4 separate regions of the Homo sapiens genome follow, and all the other regions are linked to region 4. Evidence: promoter capture Hi-C in 16 types of primary human blood cells and fetal thymus (Javierre and others, 2016). All regions are on one chromosome and are shown on one strand. The core of a region is centred on a gene start or on the middle of the fragment in contact, and the rest is flanking DNA. Distances in the headings are between cores, read along the strand shown. Region 1 has its middle 49 kb from the start of MIR760. Region 2 holds the start of FNBP1L (formin binding protein 1 like). Region 3 has its middle 18 kb from the start of FNBP1L. Region 4 holds the start of BCAR3-AS1 (BCAR3 antisense RNA 1).

The links. Contacts are between HindIII fragments. The CHiCAGO score rates a contact against its expected background, and 5 or more counts as called.
Region 1: a fragment that was not itself captured here is called in contact with the fragment with the promoter of BCAR3-AS1 in region 4 in 6 of 17 cell types (naive B cells, total B cells, M1 macrophages and 3 more); the score reaches 6.5 in naive B cells.
Region 2: the fragment with the promoter of FNBP1L here is called in contact with the fragment with the promoter of BCAR3-AS1 in region 4 in 15 of 17 cell types (erythroblasts, M0 macrophages, megakaryocytes and 12 more); the score reaches 27.9 in erythroblasts.
Region 3: a contact is called between a fragment that was not itself captured here and the fragment with the promoter of BCAR3-AS1 in region 4, in 4 of 17 cell types (megakaryocytes, erythroblasts, endothelial precursors and 1 more). The highest score is 7.6, in megakaryocytes.

The regions. Positions count from the first base shown.
Region 1 is chr1:93,796,122-93,799,177 of GRCh38, reverse strand. It overlaps a transcript of BCAR3 not described here. Among named protein-coding and RNA genes, the nearest start is that of MIR760, 49 kb to the left of the region's middle. RefSeq lists an enhancer at 2,722-3,056. The HindIII fragment of the contact is 178 bases long and covers 1,546-1,723 here.
Region 2 is chr1:93,446,562-93,449,407 of GRCh38, reverse strand. It overlaps FNBP1L (formin binding protein 1 like), which reads right to left and starts at 1,290. Exons shown (of 17, transcript NM_001164473.3): 1 at 1,103-1,290. The coding sequence starts at 1,126. RefSeq lists silencers at 1,133-1,182, 2,122-2,416 and an enhancer at 663-1,641. The HindIII fragment of the contact is 14,675 bases long and covers 1-2,846 here.
Region 3 is chr1:93,428,029-93,431,337 of GRCh38, reverse strand. No RefSeq gene overlaps it. Among named protein-coding and RNA genes, the nearest start is that of FNBP1L, 18 kb to the left of the region's middle. The HindIII fragment of the contact is 889 bases long and covers 1,353-2,241 here.
Region 4 is chr1:93,590,648-93,593,858 of GRCh38, reverse strand. It overlaps BCAR3-AS1 (BCAR3 antisense RNA 1), which reads right to left and starts at 1,891. Exons shown (of 4, transcript NR_034091.1): 1 at 1,351-1,891. It overlaps BCAR3 (BCAR3 adaptor protein, NSP family member), which reads left to right. Exons shown (of 12, transcript NM_003567.4): 4 at 1,466-1,594. RefSeq lists enhancers at 1,529-1,688, 1,195-1,695. The HindIII fragment of the contact is 15,312 bases long and covers 1-3,211 here.

The DNA of each region.
Region 1 (3,056 bases), core at 385-2,884, 210 kb before region 4:
GCAATAGACTCTATAGCTCACGGGCTGCCCCCTTGTTGGAGGGCCATTTCAGGCATTATCATATTTCTCAAGGCTACTCAGGAAACTAATGGAGGCTCCCTTGACTATATATGTACTTCATTCTGCAGAAGCTTTTTTGAATTCACATCATACACAATATTTTTCTGTCAACTGATTGGCTTTATTACAATGTACTTTTACTCTCTGCTCCACACATTACCCTCTCTTGCTGTAATACTCTTAATCTCACAAGTTACTTCTTGAAGCAACTGAGGAGATTACCTCATGACTGTATGGAACAGCATACAGTCTGTATGCTGTATAGTTCTATTACTAATAGAACAGCTTTTGATGCCCAGTCAGAATTTGCAGGAGATACCACTACAAAATGCTGATGTTACCTGGTTCACAGATGGATCATATCTAAAGGATAAGTTTGAAAAATACCAAACAAGCTATGTCGTTGTGTCTCATGTAGACATCATAGAGAGCAATTTCTTGCCTAAAGTAAAGTCAGCACAGTTGGCTGGATTAATAGTACTCACCAGAGGTTGTCTAACTGGCCAAAAATCAAATAACTAATATTTATACTGACAGCCATTACACTTTTGGTGCAGCTCATGTCTTTGGAATGTTATGGAAACAGCGAGGTTATTTAACCTCCTCTGGACATCCTATTAAACATGGCTCTCAAGTTTCTGATCTTCTGGAAGCCATCCAGTTACCAAAAAAAATTGGCTATTGTTAAGAGTCTTGGACATTCCAAACATGACTCCCTGGAGTGAAGGAGATAATTTTGCTGATGCTGAGCAAAAAAAATAAAAATAAAAATTAGCTTAATGCTAATATCAAATGAAACTGTAGAGATGGCCATGTTTAAAGTGAAGGGGCTCAAGAAAAGGCTCCAAAGCGGAAAAAGCAAATATGACTAAGGGAGAATGCTTTTCCCCCAACTTGCAAAATATAATATAGACCCAGTGACAGGAAAGCACATCCCTATTTTGCCTTTGGGATATCAATTTCCTATATTACAGCATGTCCATGAACTCATTCACTGGGGACTTGAGAAAATATTTGCCTGGGGAAAACACTATTACTGGAAACCCTCACCCACAGTAGTTCATAAGGTTTGTGCTAAATGTCCAATTTGTCCTATATATAATCCAGGAAAGCCTCTTCTAGATCTCAAGGGCATTTACCTTTGCCCACCGGCCCTTTCAATATTTGACAAATGGATTTTATCCACTTACCTCCAGCTCAGGGTTATAAATATGTATTGGTTATGATTTATATGTTCTCTCATTGGGTTGAAGAATTTCCTTGAGACAGTAGGAAAATGTTTGTTGGAATGGATAATTTCCTTTTGAGGAATTCTTTCCAAATTACATAGAAATAGGGAACTCATTTCACTGAACAGATAATTCACTTAATTTGTATAATCTGGCCTATTTTCCAATATTTTTATTGTACATACCATGCCCAGTCTTCTGATTGGTAGAATGAATATATCAAAAATAAAACCCAGCTAGAAAATTATCGAAAGCTTTTCCTATTACTTGGCCCCAGGCTCTTCCACTGGTTTTGCTTAACCTAAGAGCAGCTCCTTCTGGAATAATATGTCAATTATCCCATGAGATAATTACAGGTTGACCTATGAAAGTAAATGGCAGTTTATATGAACCAACTTTACTGAAAGGAGATATACTCCATTATTAACAAAGCTTAACTAAACTTCTTTTCCAAACAAACTAAATTGTAAAAAGAGCCTTAAATGCAATAGAGGCAGGACTTGGGACATTAAGACAAGTTGAGAATGTATTTAATGAAGAAAGACATTTACAAGAAAAGTTGATACTTACCAACCTAAGTAGAATAAAAAGCATACTCTTTCAGAAGGAAAGTGAGGGTTGAGAAGCTGCATGGAAAGATAATGATGCTATTGCTAAATGGGTGAATCAAACTGCCTGGCTAACGAGGGACTATGCCAAAGCCCAACAATCAGAAAAAGCATGGGTTCAAATTCAACAAGGTTATTGACCATGCTAATCCAAATGGAAGCAGAAGTGGCCTCTAAAACGTGGCCAGTCGTTTTGGATGCAGAAGCACAAGGTATACATTTATGGAAAACATATGGGCCCTCTTCTTCCTGGAAAATTGCTACCAGGGTACACAGCCTGTACTCTTAGGGCTTCAGCAACCCACATATACAGTAACCAGAAATATAATGCAGTATAGCTAGTGGAAATTGGGATCATTTTTAATAATACCCGTGTTCTCCCAACAGGCAGTTGATGGAACCATACTAAATAATAATATTTGGAATCCAATTTCAGTTTTAGATTGCAAACAAATTCAGGAAGAATTGTTCTGTCCCCAGAACATCTGGAATCCTGAAATCATGGAAACATGGTTCCTAATTTTTACCCCTATTCAAAATAATATATAGGAAATGGATATTTTTGTTTGGAAGCGAAGACAAATAAGACTATAAGTGTTGGGGAGGAGCCAAGATGGCCGAATAGGAACAGCTCCAGTCTACAGCTCCCAGCGTGAGCGACGCAGAAGACAGGTGATTTCTGCATTTCCATCTGAGGTACCGGGTTCATCTCACTAGGGAGTGCCAGACAGTGGGCGCAGGCCAGTGTGTGCGCGCACCGTGCGCGAGCCGAAGCAGGGGGAGGCATTGCCTCACCTGGGAAGCGCAAGGGGTCAGGGAGTTCCCTTTCCGAGTCAAAGAAAGGGGTGACGGACGCACCTGGAAAATCAGGTCACTCCCACCCGAATATTGCGCTTTTCAGACCGGCTTAAAAAACGGCGCACCACGAGACTATATCCCACACCTGGCTCAGAGGGTCCTACACCCACGGAATCTCGCTGATTGCTAGCACAGCAGTCTGAGATCAAACTGCAAGGCGGCAACGAGGCTGGGGGAGGGGCGCCCGCCATTGCCCAGGCTTGCTTAGGTAAACAAAGCAGCCAGGAAGCTCGAACTGGGTGGAGCCCACCATAGCTCAAGGAGGCCTGCCTGCCTCTGTAGGCTCCACCTCTGGGGGCAG
Region 2 (2,846 bases), core at 41-2,540, 140 kb after region 4:
GAACAAAAGGCACGGAAAACAGGCACAGGTGGAATAAAAAGGGGAGTGGCTGAGGCCAGGCGGCTCTCGGGACAGCGCCCCCACGCCCCCAGTTCTCCCGGCCGCACCTGAGAAATCACTGCCCTCCGCACCTGAGAAATCACTGCCCTCCACACCTCGACCCTTCCGCGCCGGCGCCAGGAGCAAATTCTCCGACCTATTACCCTCCGCCCGTACCTTGGCCAGACACTGGGCATTGTCTGGAGCCTCCTGTGCCAAAGAAAGGCAAGGAGGAAAGGAAAGGAGAGAACGAAGGAGAAAGAACAAGTGAGAATAAAGAACGGAAAGGGAAGTAAAGCAACAGGGAGACCGTACGCTCCTTTTGGTAAAATTAGCTTCCTCATCGATCACTCGATTTAATTCAGCCCCCAAAACCAACCCACCAGCCCAAAGGCTGCAGCCGGGGGTGGCCAAACCGGAGTCCCTCGAAGCTGTGCCCGCCCGAAGCACTGAGGCAGGGAGAGAGAAATGTGCGTGTGGGCTGGGCCTGGCTGGCCCGAGGCCGGGCTCCGAACAAAGCCGCCTGGGTCCCCATACCTGGGGCGAGGGCTCTGGGCGGCGCCGCCCCAGACGGGCGACGCCCTAGCCCCGCGGACCTGGCCCGGGCGAGGAATCGCGGCCGGTCCCCTCCCCGCCCTCGAACAGCGCCCCTTGGGGACAATGGGCCCCCTCCCCCGCCTCCGGGAGGAGAGATACAAAGGAAGAGAGGAGCCGCCGGGCGCGAAGCCAGGCGTCGGGAAAAGTGAAGGTGGAGGAGGGAGAAGGAACAAGAGGGGATCACGGCGCACGCAGGAGCCCGCGGGCTGCTCCCCCGGCCGTCCCGGGCGCCGCCCGAGCTGCACCACGGCGGCAAAGGCGGGAGCACGGACTAGCGGCCCCCTAGACCCCCGGCCGAGAAGGGAAGAGGAGTCTGCACACAAAGACGAGCGGGACCCTCACCCTCCGCCAGCGCCGGACCGAGGACGGCGGAGCGCGCTTTCACCGCCGAGGGTCCGCGGCGCCCGCCCAACCCGCGCTTCTCAGGGGCCGGGGTCCGTGCGGGGCGCCCCTCTCCCCGACTCACCCACAGCTCCGTGCCCCAGCTCATGGCGGAACTTTCTGGCCGTCTGGCGGTGCCGCTGTCCTTCAGTCTGTCGGCTCCACAGTCTGTCCGACCTCTCACTCGCTGGCCGGCGGGCTAGCAGCTCAGCGGGTCTACCTCGAAAGGTGCCGCCACCGCCGGGCTCCCCAGTGAGTGAGAAAGACGCGACTGGAGAAGCCTCCGCCGCCGACGCGTCCCCGCCTCCCCGCGCTGGGCGGGAGGGGGCCGGGGCCGAGGGGAGGCGGAACGCGGCGCGGGGAGGGGGCGGGGCGCAGTGCATCCTGGGATCGGGGAGGACCTGGGCTAGCCTGGCCACCGCCGGCGGGGTCCCCAAGCGGGCACCTGGTCACCCTCGCTGGCCCCTCTCGCTGGTCGAGTCTCCTCCTGCAGGTACCCCGGAGCTTGGACTGCCCCCACTCCGCTGCCAGTCGGACCCCTGTTTCCAAGATAGAAAGGGAGAGAAGGGAAAAGACCCCCACCGCCGCTATTATCTCATTCCTCCTCTGCGCTGAGCCCCTTTACATGAGGCAATTTTAGTTACCTGCCTTTCCTGCCTCTTGTCTCCTCCACTCGGGAGAAACCTTGACAGGGAAGCGTCATCCAAATCCTAGAGTTTAGACTGAGGAGAGTTGTGTTTTATTTTTTTAAATCTTGATGCTTAAGGTGATCTCTCCTTTCAAGCCTGATGCTTTGGCATGACGATTCTTGGGAACCACCAAAATGTGCACAGGTTGAACAGCAAATGTGAAGGCAACATGTCCCCGATTCTGTCTTTAATTAAATATTTTAATTTTATAAATTCTGTCAGGAAATTATAAAAAGAGGCAGCTCTTCCAGTAATCATTTAGGTATGTTGCCAGCGCACGAGATGGAAGACGTGGACAAATGTGAGCCGAGCTGTCACCTGCGGAAGATGAGAAGGCAGCTTGCCCCATGTCTGGAATGGGCACCTCGTGGGTGAGGGTTGGATGGGAGCCAGATTTTTCTCTGGTAGTGTAAACAGCTTATTCGGAACTTCAGATCTCTTTCACCTCCCAGTATCGGAACCTTGGAGGCAGGTCCACTACTTCCTTTTTTCTCTATGGAGCTACTTCCTGGCCTATCTCCATGGAAAGGCTGTTAGCTAGTTTGGCTGGTGCTACTAGATATCAAGTACGCTGAGCAACTCCCTAACATATGCTTTAGTATTAATAGCTTGTCTCCTAAAGCAAGCAAGCGCACACACACACACTTCAAAACAGTCAACTAGTAGAGTACTCCTCAGTGCGTCATGACAGCTGGGTGTTTTAGGAAGCTCTCCCAACGGGTTCTTTGTCAGCATTGAAACTCCTCCCCTACCTGGCCTGGACAGGTGTTCCAACCTCTTCCGCTTAATCCGTATTCTTTTGCCTAGCTGCGCTCCCTCTTGGAGTTGAGGCCAACAGCCTGAGTTCGCCTGACAGTCCAGTTGCTAATCTTCCTAAATTCTCTGCTGTCCTTTTCTGAGGCCACTTTAAGCATACAAATGCCCTCTTCCAAGTGGGTTATAGCCAATTTTTAAATGCTTAACTTTGTACCATGCAGTGAAAAGCCTGTGAAGGATTGAACAACACTTTCTAACATTTTTCTACATTGCCTCTATTCCAAAATAATTTCTTCGTTTATTTATGTCACCTAACACTGTTAACCGCCTCTCCCATCACTTCCTATCACTCCCTAGAATCATGAATGTATTTTGCAATTGCAA
Region 3 (3,309 bases), core at 548-3,047, 160 kb after region 4:
CAAGAGGTGAAGTTGGCAGAGCCAAGATCATGCCAATGCACTCCAGCCTGGGTGACAGAGCAAGACACTGTCTCAAAAAATTTTTTTCAATGTTATTATAAATGGTATAGGTTGTAGAATTTTGATTCCTGACTGTGGTTAATATTTTTATGTATTTTGTACATTATATATACTTCAATGATGACTCACTTCTTAGTTATATAGTTATATTATCTTTCTTGAGGGGTTCCTTAAGATTTTCTACCTAGATGATTTTGTTGTTCCAAATAAAATTTTCCTTCTTCTTCTATAATTTATATACTGTTACTTCTTTTTATTTTCTTAATAAAATGTTGAATAGAAGAGGTGAGCATGGAGGACCCATCCAGTGGCTCATGCCTATAAACCCCAACACTCTGGGAGACCAAGGCAAGAGGATTACTTGAGCCCAGGAGTTTGAGACAAGCCTGGGTAACGTGGTGAAACCCTGTCTCTACCAAAAATACAAAAAAAAAAAAATTAGCTAGGCATGCTGGTGCACAGCTGTATTCCCAGCTACTTGGGAGGATGAGATAGGAGAATTAATTGAGCCCAGGAGGTCAAGGCTGCAGTGAGCCATAATAGCGCCACTGCATTCCAGTGTGGGTGATAAAGCGAGAACCTGTCAAAGAAAAAGAGGTGAGCATGGACATTTCTTTCTTTCTTTGGAATCTTAGACAGAAAGCATTCAGTTGTTCATGATAAACCATGACGGTAGCTGTAAATTTTTTATATATGGACTTTGTCAGGTAAAAGAAATTCCCTTCTATTCCTACACTGATGAAAGTTTTCGTTAGGAATGAATGTAAGACCTTGTCAAATGTTTTTCTTTCAGCTATTGAGAAGAATTTGTGTGTGTGTGTGTGTGTGTGTGTGTGTGTGTGTGTGTGTGTGTGTGTAGATTAAATTACATTGGTTAATTTTCTAATTTTTTTCACCAGTCTTGCATTTGTGGGATAAACTAGTTTGGTCAGAATATATTAACCATTGTATTCATTACGGGATTTATTTTGCTAACATTTTGTTGAGGAATTTTATTTCAATGTTCATGAAGAACAGTGGCATACAGTTTCATTATCTTCTGTGTTTTTGTTTGGTTTTGGTACCGGGTGAATGCTAGTCTCATATAATGAATTAGGGGAAGTTTCTTCTTCTTCAATTTTCTGAAAGAATTTTTGTAGAACTGTTATTATTTTGCTTTTACATTTTGGTAGACTTCAACAGTGAAGCCATCTGGGCCTGGAGTTTTCTTAATGGGAAAATTTTTAATTAAAAATTTGATTTCTTTAATAAAAATAAAACTTTGCATATTACTATTTCTTCTTGAGTAAGCTTTGGTAGCTTGCCTATTTCATTTAAGTTGTTGAATATATTAGTAAAAAGTTATAATAGTCCCTTATTATCCTCTTAATGTTTATAGAACCTATAATTATGTCACCCTTTCCTTCTCAATATTAGTGATGTGTATCTTCTTTTGTCTCCTATCAGTCAGGCTACAGGTTTATCAATTTTATTGATCTTCTCAATCTGTTTTTGGCTTTATTGATTTTCTCTATTCTTCTTGCTTATTTGTTTTCCATTTCTCTGATTTCTGCTCTTATATTTATTACTTTCTTTGGCTGATTTGGATTTGAATTGTTCTTCTTTTTACAGTTTCCTAAGGTCACTAATTTGAAACAATTTTTAAAATATATATGCCCTTAATGCTATATATTTCCTCCTAAGCACTGCTTTAGCATCATCTCACAAATTTTTCTTTTTACTCAATTCAAATAATTTCTAACATTCTTTTGCTTGCCTTTTTGATACTTGAGTTATTTAGAAGTGTGTTATTTATGTTTAATATCCACCTATTTGGGGATTTTTCAGATATCTTTCTGTTGTTGAGTTCCATTTAATTTTCTTGTTGTCATATTTTGTATATTTGAATTATTTTCAACTTACTGAGACTCGGTTTTTGATCAGAATATGACTTATCTTGGTAAATGTTTTGTGGATATTAGAAAAGAACATGTATTTTGTTGCTGTTGGGTGAAGTATTTGATAAATTTCAATTAGGTCAAGTTGGTTTATGGTGTTTGAATCTTCAATATCTTTACAGATTTTCTGTTTATCTCTTCTATTAAATTCTAATGAGAAAGATGCCAAAGTATCTTACTATAATTGTGAACTTATATATTTTTCCTTGCAGTTCCATCAGTTTTATTTTGTGTATGTGAAGCTTAATTATCAGGTGCATAAACATTGAGAATTGCTAAGTTCTCTTGACCAATTGACTCCTTTGTTTTATCTCATTTTCTTTTCTTTTTTTTTTTTTTTTTGAGATAGGGTCTCACTCTGTCATCTAGGCTAAAGTATAGTGGCATAATCATGGCTCAAGGTAGCCTCAATTTTTCCCGGGCTCAAGTGATCTCCCACCTTAGCCTCCTGAGTAGCTGGGACTACAGGCACTCGCCACCACACCAAGCTAATTTTTTAACTTTTTTTTCACTATGTTGCCCAGGCTGGTCTCAAACTCCTGGGCTCAAGTGATCCTCTTGCTTCAGCATCTGGAGTAGCTAGGGTTACAGGCACACATCACTGTACCTGGATTTAGGATGATTCTTTTTAACACTGGCAATATTCTTTGCTCAGAAATCTACTCTGTCTGAAATTAATATTGTCATCCTAGTATTCTTTTGATTAGTGTTAGCATGAGATTTTTTTCCATCTTTTAATTTTTAGGTTATTTGTTACTTTGTTTTTCAAATGGGTTTCTTATAGGCAGCATATAGTTGGGTCTTGCTTTTCTACCCAACTTGACAATCTCTGCCTTTAAATTGGGGTGTTTAAGATGTTTACACTTAACATAATTAAGGATATGGTAGGGTTTAAGTCTACCATCTTACTTTTTGTTTTCTGTTTGTCCTATTTGTTTTCTGTTCCCCCTTTTTCTTGTTAACTTCTCTTGGATTGAGTATTTTTTATTATTCCATTTTATCTCCAGTTGGCCTATTAGCTACAACTCTTTGTTTTGTATTTTAGTGGTTACTTTAGGGTTTCTAATATACATTTTTTAAACTTTATTTTTAAAATGACTGTTTTCCTTTTTGAGACAGGGTCTTGCTCTGTCACCCAGGCTGCAGTGCAGTGGTGTGATCTCGGCTCACTGCAACCTTCGTTTCCCAGGCTCAAGTGATCCTCCTACCTCAGCCTCTCAAATAGCTAAGACTGCAGGTATGTACTACCACACTTGACTAATTTTTAAATTTTTTGCAGAGATGGGGTCTCACTGTTGCAGGATCCTTGGGT
Region 4 (3,211 bases), core at 642-3,141:
TAAAAATCAGCCCCTGAGTTACTCTTCAGCTAGCGCTCCTTATGGGCCAATGTGCAAAGAAGCACTAGAGGATGAGAATCTAGCCCTAAAATTCCAGGGCTTTGTTGTTGTTGTTGTTGTTGTTGTTGTTTGGTGGAAAAGGATTTGGAGCTATTTCTTTGCTGACGTGCAAAGTAGTGTAATAGGCCGGGCATGGTGGCTCACGCCTGTAATCCCAGCACTTTGAGAGGCCAAGGTGGGTGGATCGCTTGAGCCCAGGAGTTTGAGACCAGCCTGGGCAACATGGCAAAACCCTATCTCTAAAAAAAAAATTACAAAAATTAGCCAGGCATGGTGGCACGTGCCTGTTGTAGTCCTAGCTACCAGGGAGGCTGAGATGGGAGGATCGCTTGAGCCCAGGAGGTTGCTTGAGCCCAGGAGGCCAAGGCTACAGTGAGCTGAGATTGCACCACTGTGCTCTAGCACAGTGAGACCCTGTCTCAAAAAAAATAAAATAAATAAACATTTTTAAAAAGTAGTGTGATAAGTAATAATTTTGTGGCTCCCATGGGGGTTTGAAGGACAAGCTGGGAAACTTGGGAGAACCACAGGGACACAGCCTTTTTCTGTTCATGGGACTTTCAGCAAGCGGTTCCTGGTCAGCATGCCTGGTCTTGCTGGGAACTGGGCAGGTTTCCAGGTTCAGTTCACATGTTGTAAGCAGGCATGGTTCTAAATTAAACCTGGAGCCACCGCTGTCCACCCAGCACTCACTGCCATGGCCACTGTGCAACGCCGCAGACCACTGATTCTCAAACATCTGAGGTGAAGGACCAGGGTTGTCTTTTTAAATTTGTTTCACTTTCCTATCTGTCATAAAAATGAAATATTAGAAATGTGAAATAAAGACAGACTTCTGTTATTAGATTCAAGAGACATAAAATTGCTCTGTCCATTTGCCCTAAAAGTTTCTAAAGACTGACTCAATTCCTGAACATGAGTTTACCAACAGCAAAGAAGTTAGGGCCATCGCTACCAGCCCAAGGACTGTGCTTTGGGCCTCACTGCCCAGAGGCCCAGGATCTAAGGCCAGAAGGGAACAGCTGCCCTCCCCACGCTATGTCAGGACAGTCCTGAAGGAGAATGAGGAAGCTCTCCGCTGGGAAGAGAGCAGGCTGGGCTGCTGTGTCTTGCTGTCTGTACATCTCTCTGGCCCTTCCTGCCCAGCTGCTTGAGTAGACTGGTAAAAGGAACCTCTTGGTGGACTCTCCTACCATAGTCCCCATGTGCAGGTGAAAATTTTATTACATGGTTGCGGCCGGAGAAACGAAAGGTCACAGCTCTTTGTAATCATTATCCAGGCTCCCCTACCTGAATGCAGGCTGTAGCATAACTGGTTGGATTAGTGAAGCAGGCGGTCACCTCCAGCTGGCATGGCCTGGTGTGGCCTGGGCAGGGTGAGCTCATGGTTGACTCTGTGTTGCAGTTCTCCAAGGAGAGGCACATCATGGACAGGACCCCCGAGAAACTGAAGAAGGAGCTGGAGGAGGAGCTGCTCCTGAGCAGCGAGGACCTGCGCAGCCATGCCTGGTACCACGGCCGCATCCCCCGACAGGTACCTGGTCTTGTCCCTTCCAGAGCATACACGGCTGCTCTCAGGCAATGTACAGATTGATGACCCGCAGGGTCCCACTCCGAGGCCACATGGGCGGAAGCACCTGTGTAACCAAAAACAAATACTCTAAAAATGACTTCATTTAGACCCTTCTCTAAGAAGACCTTGGGAAGAGCTGAGGTCAAGAACCCAAAGCACACATCCACATGTTCAGGAAGTGAAGGGACAGCCAGCGCTCCTGGGGTCTGCAAGCACAGCGTTGTGGGAGGCAGCAGCCACAGAGTCAGTAACCGGAAGAACTAGGAGGGCGGGCTGTGGCCCAGGTAATTGAACTCTTGGCCAGCTGCCAGCAGCCTCAGACCATTTGCAGCCCCTCCTTCTCAAGGCAGTGGCTTAGCTTCGGGAGGAGAGAGGGCAGGTGGCCCAGATCAACAAGGCTGCCTCTGCCCCATTGAGCTGGCAGTTATTCACACTCTCCATCACTTCCCTACTGGATCCTGTGACCCAGAGGTGGGAAAAAAGGGGAATTAAACCCATGACCACAGACTCATGGCCCAGAATATACTTTGTGATCGTCATTTGGGTGATTGCCATAAATAATGTTTTTTCATTTAATACTGTAAAAATTGAAAAATAGAGTAAGTCTGCAGAATTGAGGCATAGAATTTCCCTTGGGTTTTTATTGTAAACCTGATCTGGCCAATCATTAACCAAGGACAACATGACAGGAAGTGTGTGGACAGGGGCTGGGGGGAAGGGCATCATGTCGTAAGTTTTTTTTCTTTTTTTTGAGACAGAGTCTTACTCTATCACCCAGGCTGGAGTGCAATAGCACAATCTCAGCTCACTGCAACCTCTACCTCCTGGGTTCAAGCGATTCTCCTGCCTCAGCCTCTCTGGTAGCTGGGATTACAGGTGTCCACCACCATGCCCTGCTAACTTTTATATTTTTAGTAGAGACGGGGTTTCACCATGTTGGCCAGGCTGGTCTCGAACTCCTGCCCTCAAGTGATCCACCCACCTCAGCCTCCCAAAGTGCTGGGATTACAGGCATGAGTCACTGTGCCCAGGCTTTTTTTTTTTTTTTTTTTTTTTTAATGTAGTAGATTTCTTGGCACAATCAAATAAATAATTATTATTCTGACTTTGTTTTTTTAAGTTTAAAATTGATTGTAGAAAACATAGATAGCAAAAAGAAGGAAATTAAACTCTTATCCATAATTCTCCTCATAATTCTCCTGGGGATAACCACGATGAATACTTTTGTGTACATACATCCTCCCGGGCTTTTTGAAATCAAGTATGAGATTGTACTACATATACTTTTTTGGTAGCCCATTCTACTCACTTACTATGTCCTGGGAATTTTCACCCACTGTAGAATATTCTTCTGCACCAGCCTACATTGTATGTCTGTCCACGGTATGCATGCACTACAATTTACTGGACACATAGGGTGTTTCTAATACTCTGACCAATATCCTTTAAGATTGCTGTGTTCATACCTACAATTATTTTCACAGGCTCAATTCTAAGAAGTGGCATTTCTATGTGAAAACATTTTTAAGGCAAAGATGCAATTTTAAAGTAACCATGGTAGCCTACTATTTTGACCTA